2 separate regions of the Homo sapiens genome follow, and region 1 is linked to region 2. Evidence: promoter capture Hi-C in 16 types of primary human blood cells and fetal thymus (Javierre and others, 2016). All regions are on one chromosome and are shown on one strand. The core of a region is centred on a gene start or on the middle of the fragment in contact, and the rest is flanking DNA. Distances in the headings are between cores, read along the strand shown. Region 1 overlaps E2F6 (E2F transcription factor 6). Region 2 holds the start of SLC66A3 (solute carrier family 66 member 3).

Region 1 (6,621 bases), core at 1,837-4,336, 290 kb after region 2:
TTTATACTGTGTCCCCCTTTCTTCTCTCCCTGTCCTGTCATCCTGGCTCTTTCCTCCTTTTGTTTTTTGCTCCTTTCTTTACCTTCTCTCAGCAGATCTTCCCTTGCTTCTCTGGGCCCTCGCCTCCTGTCCTCTGAAGGCCAGGCTGAAAGCCCCAAACATCATCCCTTTCCCACCTGACTGGAGTGACAATAGGGCCTAAGGCCAACAAGGCACCAGGTCTGTCTTTAGCAGTCAGAGAAACTACAAAAGCAAAACATAAAGCCAGGAGAAGGCACTGCCTTAATCTGCAGCTAACGCCTGGCAAGGCCGGGGTGCACCGCTTGGAGGGTGGGGTAAGCCAATCCTAATAGAATCAAAAAGCCAACTTCGAAACACTGTAATACAATGGGTTGCTTTTAATGACCCAGGTGGTTTTATTCTGATTTTCATTTTTAATTATGTTAATCGAGTGGCCCATTTCTGAGATATGAAGAAACAGTTTCATGTATGAAAGTGAAACGCTGGTTCTGTCTTAAGCCCCTCAAGCCCTCAGCAGCACCATCATTCACTTGCTAACCTTGGGCATTCACTTGACTCCGCCAATACATGCATCCCTGGGGCCAAAACCATCAAAAGGGAGGCACAAAAGGAGTCATAGCTGTCTCAAGTACAGGGGGGCTCATCTTTTGCTGAGGCAAAGGACAATTAGTTAGATGTGCTTTAACTTTTAGCAAAATGCAAATTTGGCAATCTTTTTTTCATTACAAATTCCGTTAGTTACTGAAGTCATCGTTTTTTTTTTATTTTTTATTTATTTATTTATTTTTTTAACTTTAGATGGAGTCTCGCTCTGTTGCCAGGCTGGAACGCAGTGGTGCAATCTCGGCTCACTGCAACCTCTACCTCCCAGGTTCAGGTGATTCTTCTGCCTCAGCCTCCTGAGTAGCTGGGACGACTGGTGCGTGCCACCAGGTCCGGCTAATTTTTGTATTTTTAGTACAGATGGGTTTCACCATGTTGGCTAGGATGGTCTTGATCTCTTGACCTTGTGACCTGCCTGCCTCAGCCTCCCAAAGTGCTGGGATTACAGGCGTGAGCCACCACGCTCGGCCTGAAGTCATCTTTTAAAAAAAATTCTCAGGGCCAGGTGTGGTGGCTCATGTCTGTAATCCCAGCACTTTGGGAGGCAGAGGCAGGCAGATCACTTGAGGTCAGGAGTTCGAGACCAGCCTGGCCAACGTGGTGAAATCCCACCTCTACTAAAAAAACACAAAAATTAGCCAGCTGTGGTGGCCCATGCCTGAAATCCCAGCTACTCTGGAGTCTGAGGCACGAGAATCACTTGAACCTGGGAGGCAGAGGTTGCAGTGAGCTGAGATCATACCACTGCACTCCAGCCTGTGTGACAGAGTGAGACTCCGTTACAAAAAAAAAAAAAAATTTCTTGGGAGTTGGGTCGAATGATGTAGTCAGGTCAGGTCACTTACCAACCAGCAACAACTTACTGAACATTGTATTAGTCCATTCTCATGCTGCTAATAAAGACATACCCAAGACTGGGTAATTTATAAAGGAAAGAGGTTTAATTGACTCACAGTTCAGCATGGCTGAGGCCTCAGGAAACTTACAATCATGGTGGAAGGGGAAGCAAACATGTCCTTCTTCACATAGTGGCAGGAGAGAGAAGAATGAGAGCCGATCCAAGGGGGAAGCCCCTTACAAAAGCATCGGATCTTGTGAGAACTTACTATCACGAGAACAGGATGGAGGAAACAGCCCCCATGATTCAATTTTCTCCATCTGGTCCCTCCCACAACATGTGGGGATTATGGGAACTATAATTCAAGATGAGATTGGGGTGAGAACACAGCCAAACCATATCATTCTGTCCCTGGCCCCTCCCAAATCTCATGTCCTCATAATTCCAAACATAACCCTGCCCTTCCAACAGTCACCCAAAGTCTTAGCTCATTCCAGCATTAACTCAAAACTCCAAGTCCAAAGTCTCATCTCAGACAAGGCAAGTCCCTTCCACCTATGGGCCTGTAAAACCAAAAGCAAGTTAGTTACTTCCTAGATACAATGGGGGTACAGGGATTGGGTAAATACACCCATTCCAAATGGGAGAAATTGGCCAAAACAAAGAGGCTACGGGTGCCATGCAAGTCCGAAATCCAATACGGCAGTCATTAAACCTTAAAGTTCCAAAATGATCTCCTTTGACTCCGTGTCTCCCATCCAGGTGATGTTGATGCAAGAGGTGGGCTCCCATGGCCTTGGGCAGCCCCACTCCTGTGGCTTTGCAGGGTATACCCCCACCCCCACCTTGGTTACTTTCACAGGCTGGTGTTGAGTGTCTGGGACTCTTCCGGGTGCACAGTGCAAGCTACCATTCTGGGGTCTGGAGGACGGTGGCCCTGTTCTCACAGCTCCACCAGGCAGTGCACCAATCGGGACTCTGTGTGGGGGATCCAACCCCGTATTTCCCTTCCACACTGCCCTAGCAGAGGTTCTCCAGAGAGCGAACTTCTGCCTGGACATCCAGGTGTTTCCATACATCCTCTGAAATCTAGGCAGAGGTTCCCAGACCTTAATTCTTGACTTCTGTGCACCCATAGGCCCAACACCATGTGTAAGCCAAGGCTTGGGGCTTGCACCCTCTGAAGCAACAGCCTGAGCTTTATGTTGGTCCCTTTTAGCCAAGGCTGGAGCTGAAGAAGCTAGGATGCAGGGCACCATGTCCCAATGCAGCATAGAGCGGGGGGTGGGGGGGGGGCCCTTATAGGCCCCCAGGCTTGTGATAGGAGGGGCTGCTGGAAGGTCTCTGACATGCCCTGGAGACATCTTCCCCATTCTCTTGGTGATTAACATTTGACGTTACTTATGCAAATTTCTGCAGCCAGCTTAAATTTCTCCCCAGAAAATGGAGTTTTCTTTTCTATCCCATCATCAGGCTGCAAAATTTTCCAAACTTTTATGCTCTGCTTCCTCTCGAACACTTTGCTGCTTAGAAATTTCTTCTGCCAGATACCCTAACTCATCTCTCTCAAAGTTCCATGCATCTCTACGGCAGAGGCAAAATGCTACCAGTCTCTTTCCATAGCAAGAGTGACCTTTACTCCCGCTTCCAATAGGTTCTTCATCTCCATCTTGACCACTTCAGCCTGGACTTCACTGTCCATATCACTATCAGCAATTTGTCAAAGCTATTCAACAAGTCTCTAGGAAGTTCTAAATGTTTCCCACATTTTCCTGTCTTCTTCTGAACCCTCCAAACTGTTCCAACCTCTGCCTGTTACTCAGTTCCAAAGTTGCTTCCACATTTTTGGGTATCTTTACAGCAGCACCCCACTCTCTGTGGTACCAATTTACTGTATTAGTCCATTCTCAAACTGCTAACAAAGACATACCCAAGGCTGGGTAATTTATAATGGAAACAGATTTAATTGACTCATAGTTCAGCATGGCTGGCTCAGGAAACTTACAATCATGGTGGAAGAGGAAGCAAATACGTCTTTCTTCATATGGTGGCAGGAGGGAGAATGAGAGCCGAGCGAAGGGAAAAGCCCTCTATTAAACCATTAGATCTCGTGAGAACTTACTATCACGAGAACAGGATGTAGGGAAACAGCTCCCATGATTCAGTTATCTCCACCTGGTCCCTCCCACGACACATGGGGATTATGGGAACTGCAATTCAAAATGAGATTTGGGTGGGGACACAGCCAAACCCTATCATACACTACATTAATATGAGAAATACCTATTAAGACATGAGCTTACACTCTGACAACATGGAATGGCAGCTGGGAACGTAGCCGCAGCAACTTATGAGGAAGGAAGATGGCCACCTGCGTGCTGTGTATAAACTGCATGCAGGGTAGGAGTAAAGGGGAGGCATGGGTGAAGCCAGGTCCAGAATAGGGATGCGATTTTGAAACACAGAGAACAGGAAGAGGATAGGATAAGAGCAAAGGCAGGGAGATGGGAAAGTTCACTGTGTGCTTCAGGTAGCGATGAGACCAATTTACTGGGGTGAAGGTCTGCAAGGCAGGTACCAAGGCAGGATTGGTAAGCAAGCCTTGGGCCCTTCTATATCCAGAGTCTGCACTTCGGCCTGAAGGAAACACGGATCGCTCAAGGTTTCTGAAGGAAGAAGCGGTGCGCACAGAGATGGGACAGTGAGGTTGGAAAGGTTAGGGTTAGTGAGGAGGAGGGGCCCAGAAACGAGTTCATGCTTATTTTATCCGTTTTAAGAATCAGAGACCCAACGCCAGAAGATGGAGTGACTCGAGAGATACTTCATTTATAACACACATCTGTAATTTACAAAGGATTTTCGTTTACATGATCTCATTTTACCTTCAGAACAATTTGTAAAGGAGAACATTTGCCACATTCACAAGTTAAGGAACTGCTGCTCAGAAATGATGGTATTACCTTTGGTAAAACCTTTGTTGGTTTTTGGGACACTGCCTTCTCCCTCCCCACCCGCCCCATTATTCCTTCTCAGGAGACTTCTTCTGTATTTCTCCTTAAATATAGATGCCCTTAGGCCTGCTGTACTCTTTAGATGACCTCTCCTACTCTTGTGGCTTAAACTATCGCATCTAAACTGACATCTGCCTGACGTACTACACAGCTCAGACTTTTCCGCTGAGCACCTGACCTACATACACACAACAACCTGCTCAACTCTTGCTTTCATCAAGCATGTCCCAAACCTAAGTTTTACCCTAGGCTTGCTCCTCCTCCTGTATTCCCTATTCTGTCAAACAGTACGACCCACCAGTCCAGTGATGATCAGCAGTGCCCCCTGCAGCTTTTCTTTGGCTAATTTCAAATAATAAAACAGAGGGAGGAAAAGCATTGAGGCTAACCGCTGGGGGAGGAGCACACTTCATCCCCAGGTGCACAGAAACACACCGGCAGGACTGCTGCAGGAAGGGCTGGTGCTCAGCAGAGGGACAGGACTGGCAAAAGCCACCAGAGCTCAGAGGTATGTGAATCCTAAACACTCAGCATTATTTTTTAATACTTTGATTTTGGATTCCGATTTTAAATCTTTTTAAACACAGTCTGAATTTGAAGTCGCTTCAAATATTTCTTTAAAAGCAATATTCAAACGATACAGGAATCTTGTACGATAGACAAACCAAATATTATTATTCTGATCTTACAATTCACTCACTCCACTCACTTATTTGTTCAGACATTTATTGAGCACTTCTTAAGGGCCAGGCATGGTGTGAGGCACTGGGATGTAACAGTGATTATGACAAAGTCCCTCAAGGAGCTCACAGTCTAATGGTAAACTACAGAGTAAACTGAGGCACAGAGTGGTAAATGACTTACCCAATGAGGTAGAAACAGCTAGGTATGTGAAAATGTGGGAGCAGAGCTGGAGAGAGGGCAAGGTACAACTTGTCCTAAGTAAAACCCCTTGGACTGACTCAACAGCAAGGCTGCATACACAAACATTACAAAATCTACTTGCAAAAACCTGAAAGGAGTTTCCAATTATCACCATGACTGAATTCATGTTTCACAATGAATTCAGCTATTTCCTGATGGCATTTCTATCCTTGCCCCCAAAGCCACTGGGCATGCCACCAGTCTGCTGGGAGACAGCAATTAGGTAGACAGCTTAAAACCAAGAAGTATCTGACTCCAATTTTAGCACTGAAAACCATATTAAAATACTTTAATTAAATCCACAAACATAAATGTGTAGCACATTTATGATACTTCTACATGTAGAAGTTTGGAAAAAGTCTCTTCTAACCCTCATCCAGAGGATTCTAATAAGTTATAGGTACCAAAGAGATTAGAGAATTTGTCTGTCACTTTCCATATATACATTATTTTGGCTGTACAAGGGTGAAAAGTGTCACTCAGACATATTTCGTAAGTAATCTCAACATTATACAGATATATACAAAGACATCACATTTAAATTCGTGTGTACATCTATGCAATGTACAACAGTAACTGCAAACATGAACCAGTGTAAGGCAATTTCTTTTGTGATATATGACATACTCCTTGAAGGGAAGGGTAGAGTCCACAAAGAACTGTCCATTTCAGCCTGACTGTCTGTCTTCATGACACTCTGTGATGAAGCTACTTCAGGAGGCAAGATGTCTATTTCACTGACAAAAAGCAGTGAATAATTATAAAAGGAGTTGTTTTCAAATGTGGAAACCACAATTACTCAGTAATCTAAGTGGTGAACTCCTCAAAGACACTACTGGCCATGATGCCGCTACTGAGAACGAGAGCACTTCATGGATAATTTATTGCTCTGAGAATCAAATTTGATGCGTAATTCTCCACGAAGATATTCCCAAAAAACTCAGTGATACATAAATTCTCAAATGCCATCAGTTGCTTACTTCAAGCAATTCTTCACTTTGCTGAGGATTTTCTTCTGGAAAAGAACACGAGAGAGAAATACACCTAAGTGAATACACCTAAGTGAAGGTCTGATAGGCAAATACGTAAAAGAATACACAATCTGACTACTTCAGAAAACCCTGAAGATGCCTGGTCAAGAACACGTATTCTCAGGTTAATGGCATAAGGCTAATTTTTTCAGCCTCTCAAGAATAAACTGGAACTCTAACTTGTACCTGAAAG
Region 2 (6,142 bases), core at 3,451-5,950:
ATGGCTATAAAGATAAAACAGCTACATGCCTCCCTCACAATTTGCCCACAAGGAAATTCCTTGTGGGCCTCAAGATCTTTACCCTACTCAGGATCATGCCAAGAATTAAAAAAAAAAACAAAAAACAAAACTTTACCCTGAAACATTTCTGTTGAATTCATCCTGGCAATGTAAACTGATAGCTGATCTTAACAGGTGCAGGACAGAAAATCATTCCTCTGCTCACCTGAGAGAAATGCTTATCTGATTGCTTCCTCAGACCTACTGTGTATGTAAAAATGAAGATTCACTGAGCCAGACTAGATTGTGAATTCACTGAAAGGCTGATCAAGGACTCAAAAGAATGCAAGCTTTTGTCTCTTATCTACCTATGACCTGGAAGCCCCCCTCTTCGAGTTGTCCTGTGTTACTGGATGGAACCAAAGTATATCTTACATATATTAATTGATGTCTCAGGTCTCCCTAAAATGCACAAAAGCAAGCTGTACCCCAGCCACCTTGGGGACGTGTCGTCAGGACCTGTTGGCAAAATAAACTTTTAAATTGCTTGAGACCTGTCTCAGATATTTTGGGTTTACTGCCACCACCAATGGCTCTCGAGTTCAGATCTCCTCTGTTGAAGAGAGTCAGGGGGTGAGGGTGGGGGAGGCATGGAATCAGTTTCTGCTCAATTCCATGTTCCCACGTGAAGGTGTAACCACCTAAAGGGCTCACCTTGCCCGCTGCCTAGACAGACCCCATTTATCAAGACAGGGGAAAGAGCAATTCACACAGAGCCAGCTGTGCGGGAGATTGGAGCTTAATTATTACTCAAATCAGTCTCCCTGAGCAGAGCATTCGGGGATGGAAGTGTTTTTGTTTTTGGTTTGGTTTGGTTTGGTTTTAGACGGAGTCTCGCTCTGTCACCCACTCTGTCTGGAGTGCAGTGGCACGATCTCGGCCCAGTGCAACCTGTGCCTCCTGGATTCAAGTGATTCTCCTGCCTCAGCCACCAGAGTAGCTGGGATTATAGGCACAAATCACCATGCCTGGCTAATTTTTGTTTTTAGTAGAGACGGGGTTTGGCCATGTTGGCCAGGCTGGTCTCTTACTCCTGACCTCAGGTGATCTGCACGCCTCAGCCTCCCAAAGTGCTGGGATTACAGGCGTGAGCCACCGCGCTCCGACTGGGGATGGAAGTTTTTAAAGATAATTTGGCCAGTAGGGGCTTGGGAAGTGGAAAGTGCTGATTGGTGAGGATGGAGATGGAATCACACGGGGGTCGAAGTGAAGTTTTCTCGCTGTCTTCTGTTCCCGAGCGGGGATTGCAGAACTGGTTGAGCCAAATAATTGGTCTGGGTGGTGTCAGCTGATCCATCCAGTGCAGGGGCTGCAAAATACCTCAAGCACTGATCTTAGGTTTTACAATAGTGATGTGATCCCCAGGAACAATTTGGGAAGGTTCAGACTCTTGCAGCCAGAGGCTGCCTGACCCTAAACTGTCATTTCTAATCTTGTAGCTAATTTGTTAGTCCTACAAAGGCAGACAGGTCCCAAGGCACAAAGGTGGTCTTTTCGGGAAAGGATTATTACTAATTTTGTTTCAGAGTCAAACCATAAACTAAATTCCTTCCCAAGGTTGGTTCAGCCTATGCCCAGGAAGGAACCAGGACAGCTTAAAGTTTAGAAGCAAGATGGGGTCAGTTAGGTCTGATTTCTTTCATTGTCATAATTTCCTGTTATAATTTTTGCAAAGGTGGTTTCAATGAGACTCCTTGGCCAGCTTCAGTCAGGGAGCTGATTCACTCTGTGCAGCTGTGGCCCAGGAGTGGGGTTAGGGTCCTGTAACAGATTGTGACCAGGGTTGCCATGTAGCTGGGGAGGAGGCAGAGGTCTCTAACATGGGGGCACTATCTTGTCCTGCAGAGATATCCCAGTGAGTGTGCACTGTAGAGACCCCCGTCCAGACACTCCCCAACCTCCTGAAGGGACAGAGGAGCCTCGCAGATCAGCTGTTTTGAGGCCATCCTCCAAGCAGAAGAGCTGGCATGCTCTTGAGATGTCCCGCTGGGCATGGGGGCTGAGACCCAAACGCCTTCCTGCATGGCCCAAACCTGGCTCCAACCTAGGACCGCCCCCATCCCCACAGCTTCAGGAGCAAAGCCAGTGCCCACAAATCCCAAAAAGGTTTTGCTAGTTTGCACCTGGTGGGGAATGACCATATACGTTGAGCACCTATTCTGTGCCTCTCAATAACCTTCTGAGCGGGATGGTTCTCCCCTTTTAAAAATGACGCTGAGGAACAGGGAAGTTAAGGTCTGTCCAAGATCATGCAGCCTGTAGGGGCCAATGCTAGGAGGACAGCTGAGGTCTGCCTAACCCCGAAGGGCCACACACCCACATCACTGCATCCTGGTCTTCACGCAAAGTAGCCAGGGAGGGGTCTAGGAGCCAGGAAGAAACCTCTTCCACAGCCCTGCCTCACCCAGCTGACCCCCAGAGCAGGCGGCTGCAGTGTCCTGGGCCAGGAGCAGCATTTGTTCCACAATGGAGGAGGCCACTCCCTGCGTGGTCCTGGGGGCACTCATACCTCTCAAAGGCCCCTCATGCTGCCTGCATCCCCAAGTGCTAGCGCAGGCTGACCCCAGGTGGGAGCAGTTCCCTCCTAAGGCTAGTCCTGGGGGCCCAGATCCTGGCCAACCCCTGGAATAAAGGCTGGGGCAGAAGGGGAAGAGGAGGGAGGGGGATTCCACTGCCATGTGGCAGGAACCAGGCACTTCCAACCAGGACCACCTCCTTGCATCAAGGGACCTATCACATGGCATGATGAAAGTAAAACACCTGGCACGCAGGAGGCACTCAACAGGTTCTAGATGTTCCTATAGTCATTGCTGCTGATGCTTGTTAAAAAGCTCTTTACGCTGGGCGCGGTGGCTCATGCCTGTAATCCCAGCACTTTGGGAGGCCAAGGCAGGTGGATCACCTGAGGTCAGGAGTTCGAAACCCCGTCTGTACTAAAAATACAAAAATTAGCCGGGAGTGGTGGCACATGCCTGTAATTCCAGCTACTTGGGAGGCAGAGGCAGGAGAATCACTTGAACCCCGGAGGTGGAGGTCGCAGTGAGCAGAGATCGTGCCACTGCACTCCAGCCTGGGCGACAAGAGTGAAACTCCGTCTCAAAAAAAAAAAAAAGCTCTTCTCTATTTTCTTCTTCAAAAAATTTATATACATATTATTTATTTATTTTTGAGACAGGGTCTGGCTCTGTCTCCCAGGCTAGAGTGAAGTGGCGCGATCTCGACTCACTGCAACCTCCGCCTCCTGGGTTCAAGCCATCCTCCTGTCTCAGCCTCCCGAGTAGCTGGGACCACAGGCACGCGCCACCACGCTCGGCTAATTTTTGTATTTTTAGTAGAGGCGGGGGTTTCCCTATGTTGCTCAGGCTGGTCTTGAACTCCTGGCCTCAAGCAATCTTCCCGCTTCGCGGGGTCAATAACGATCAGTATCGATCTAGCCAGGGCAGGTCCAAGCCGTTTCCTTTAAGGGTTCCCTTCTGAACATCCTTTTCTCATTTAGACTTGGGAGGCAGGACTCAGCACCTGTTTTTTTTTTTCCATAGGCGGAGGTGATGGGCCGGTGAGGCTGGAGAGAAAGAGCCTCGGCCAGAATTCCGAACTCCGAAGCTGACCCAGCTCCCGTCCCTCACACTTCCCGGCTGAGATTTATGGCACAAAACCAGGGATCGTGGATTCTGGCATTGCATTTTGGTGCTTTTTTGCCTGCTTCATAACCAGGCCCTAATACACAGGCGATTTTCAGAGGTTGGAAAATGCGTCCTTCCCTTTCCCTCAGTTTGTGGCTTAGACGGCCACGTCCAAGTTACTTTATCAGGAGAAATCCTTAAGAAACAGTTTCACTGTGAAGTGCTCAAGTTCAAGGCTTCCGGTGGCCCCTCAGGGCCCACGCCGCTAGGAGGGAAGCCTTCAGTCCCAGGCTGGAGACAGGCCGCGTGCTCTGAAAGGGCACAAATGAGGCGACCCTGGGGCTCTGGTCCCAGAAAGTCTCTCCAGCCTGGTTCCCCACCTGTAAGTCGGGAGGGTGCACTCAGCCCTTAAGCAGGAGGCTTTAACTCCTGAAATGCTTAGTGAGAGAAACTAAAACACTTGCAGGGAGGGAAAAATCCCGGCAGAATGGCCCATCCCCCGGGGCCATTTGCCTCTCGGTCCACCCAACCCGTGGAAAAGCCGGACTTCCAGGGCGGCTCCCGGCGGCGGCTAAACTATCGGGTGGCAAGAACGCGGAAATGCGAAGCAGCTGCTGGTGGAGCCCGCAGGCCAGGGTGGGACTGTCGCCCGGGGCGGGGCTAGGAGGGGAGGGGCGGGGCGAGGAGGGGCGGGGCGAGGCGAGGTTGGCCACGGGATTGGGCTAGGTGAGGCCGACCGGGAGGGGGCGAATCTGGGGGCGGGGCGAGATGAGGGTAGTCCGAGGACTGAGCGAGCCCGGGCGGGCCCGTAGGCGAGGCGAGATGAGGCTGGCCAGGGGGCGGGGCGGGCCCGGGCGGGAGGGGCGGGGCGGGGCGGGCCCGGGCGGGAGGGGCGGGGCGGGCCCGGGGGCGGGGTGCGTCCAGGGGAGGGGCGGAGCGAGGCGGGTCCGGGGCCTGGCGGCGCGCGGAGGGGCGGGCCCTGGCCGGGTGGTCCCGGGCGGATCCCGGGAAGGCGGAAGGCTTCGGCAGAGCTGCGCCGCCGAGGCTGAGCGGTCCCTTCTCGCTGCGGCCGCCCAGGTGCCCGCGCCCGTGGCGCTATGGAGGCGGCGCTGCTGGGGCTGTGTAACTGGAGCACGCTGGGCGTGTGCGCCGCGCTGAAGCTGCCGCAGATCTCCGCTGTGCTAGCGGCGCGCAGCGCGCGGGGCCTCAGCCTTCCGAGTTTACTTCTGGAGCTGGCAGGGTAAGGCCCGGGGCGGCCGGGGCTGCCTCCTGCCCCCTCGCAGCTGCTGCCGGCTGGGAGCCCAGGAGAGCCTCGGCTCGAAGTAGGGCGGGGATGATCCCCGCGCGCCGGCGTCGCAGCTGGGCGGCCGAGGGTGAACTAGGGAGCCTAGGGGCTCGGGGTGCTCTTCCCACGGCCACCCGCCACCCGCGTACATTGTTTCTCACCAAGCCCCGCGTGGCACGAATTGATTGCGCACGCCCATTTTACAGATGAGAAAACAGACCCAGCGGAGGCAGCCCTTGGTGCGCTAGTGACAAAACCTGCTGGCCCTGAGCAAGGCCATTTGCACCTCGAGGCTGTCATATTCATTGTCCCTAAACTCACCACGCACCGTCAACCTCGTTCTCGGGCCTCGGTTTCCTCACCTGTGAAATAAGGGGTTGAACTAAGAATGTATGAATCTCTTCTCTTCTCCCGGTGATTGGTGGGGAATCTTTCCTGGTTATTTAATGAGATTCCTTGGGAGAGGGTCTTAAGACAATTGCATTTCTTGTAGAAAGAAGTTTCCTTAGTCATCTGTAAGGAAGTTGGAGAGTCTCTGCAGTTGGGAAGGGGTGACGGAAAGGTCGTTAAATCCTTGATTCTGAGGCAGCTTCTAAGGCTTTCCTATTCAAAGTATTCATCATGCCAGAGCGCCAAACTTTTGGGGTATCATTTTTGAGCCCCAACAATAGGAAAACACATACCTCAACCTAGTGGTCTCGCCCCTTCCCCCTGGCCAGGCCAGGCCTTCCCCTTTGCCCCCCGCCATCACCCAGTGGGGTCTGAAGCCTGGTCCTCCACACAAGCCTTCCTGGTGGGCGGGGTGGGGGGTGCGGCATACAGGATGGGAAGAAGCCAAGGGGTGCGGGGGAGAAAGAGGAGACCTCAGGTGTGGGAGGGTGAGGGGTCCCACTCAGGCTTTGGACCCCGCGCCGGCCCTATGGAGCCCGGCCCTGGGCACAGTCATCCAATAGGGGGCTTTGAGGGGAAATTTTTGGGAAAGGCTTGCAGTGGGAGGGACTGTGACCTCTTCCAGGCTTGTGAGTGACTCTACCCTGCGGGGTGGGGAGGGGGGGGTCCCAGGCTGGATGGCAGGGTTGAGAGGCACCCAGGGGAGGTGGGCAGCATGCGTTTCAGGTTGGTGCCACCACCAGGCTGGGAGCAGAGAGGCTGGAGCGATGAGGTTGTGGCAAAG

The links. Contacts are between HindIII fragments. The CHiCAGO score rates a contact against its expected background, and 5 or more counts as called.
Region 1: a contact is called between a fragment that was not itself captured here and the fragment with the promoter of SLC66A3 in region 2, in 1 of 17 cell types (M2 macrophages). The highest score is 7.1, in M2 macrophages.

Annotation. Positions count from the first base shown.
Region 1 is chr2:11,440,112-11,446,732 of GRCh38, forward strand. It overlaps E2F6 (E2F transcription factor 6), which reads right to left. Exons shown (of 7, transcript NM_198256.4): 7 at 4,264-6,412. The coding sequence ends at 6,366. Among named protein-coding and RNA genes, the nearest start is that of E2F6, 23 kb to the right of the region's middle. The HindIII fragment of the contact is 7,403 bases long and covers 1-6,621 here.
Region 2 is chr2:11,150,767-11,156,908 of GRCh38, forward strand. SLC66A3 (solute carrier family 66 member 3) reads left to right here and starts at 4,701. Exons shown (of 7, transcript NM_152391.5): 1 at 4,701-4,923. The coding sequence starts at 4,781. It overlaps CIMIP5 (ciliary microtubule inner protein 5), which reads left to right. Exons shown (of 3, transcript NM_001371321.1): 3 at 1-551. RefSeq lists an enhancer at 1,532-2,032 and silencers at 4,288-4,767, 4,878-5,117. The HindIII fragment of the contact is 10,263 bases long and covers 349-6,142 here.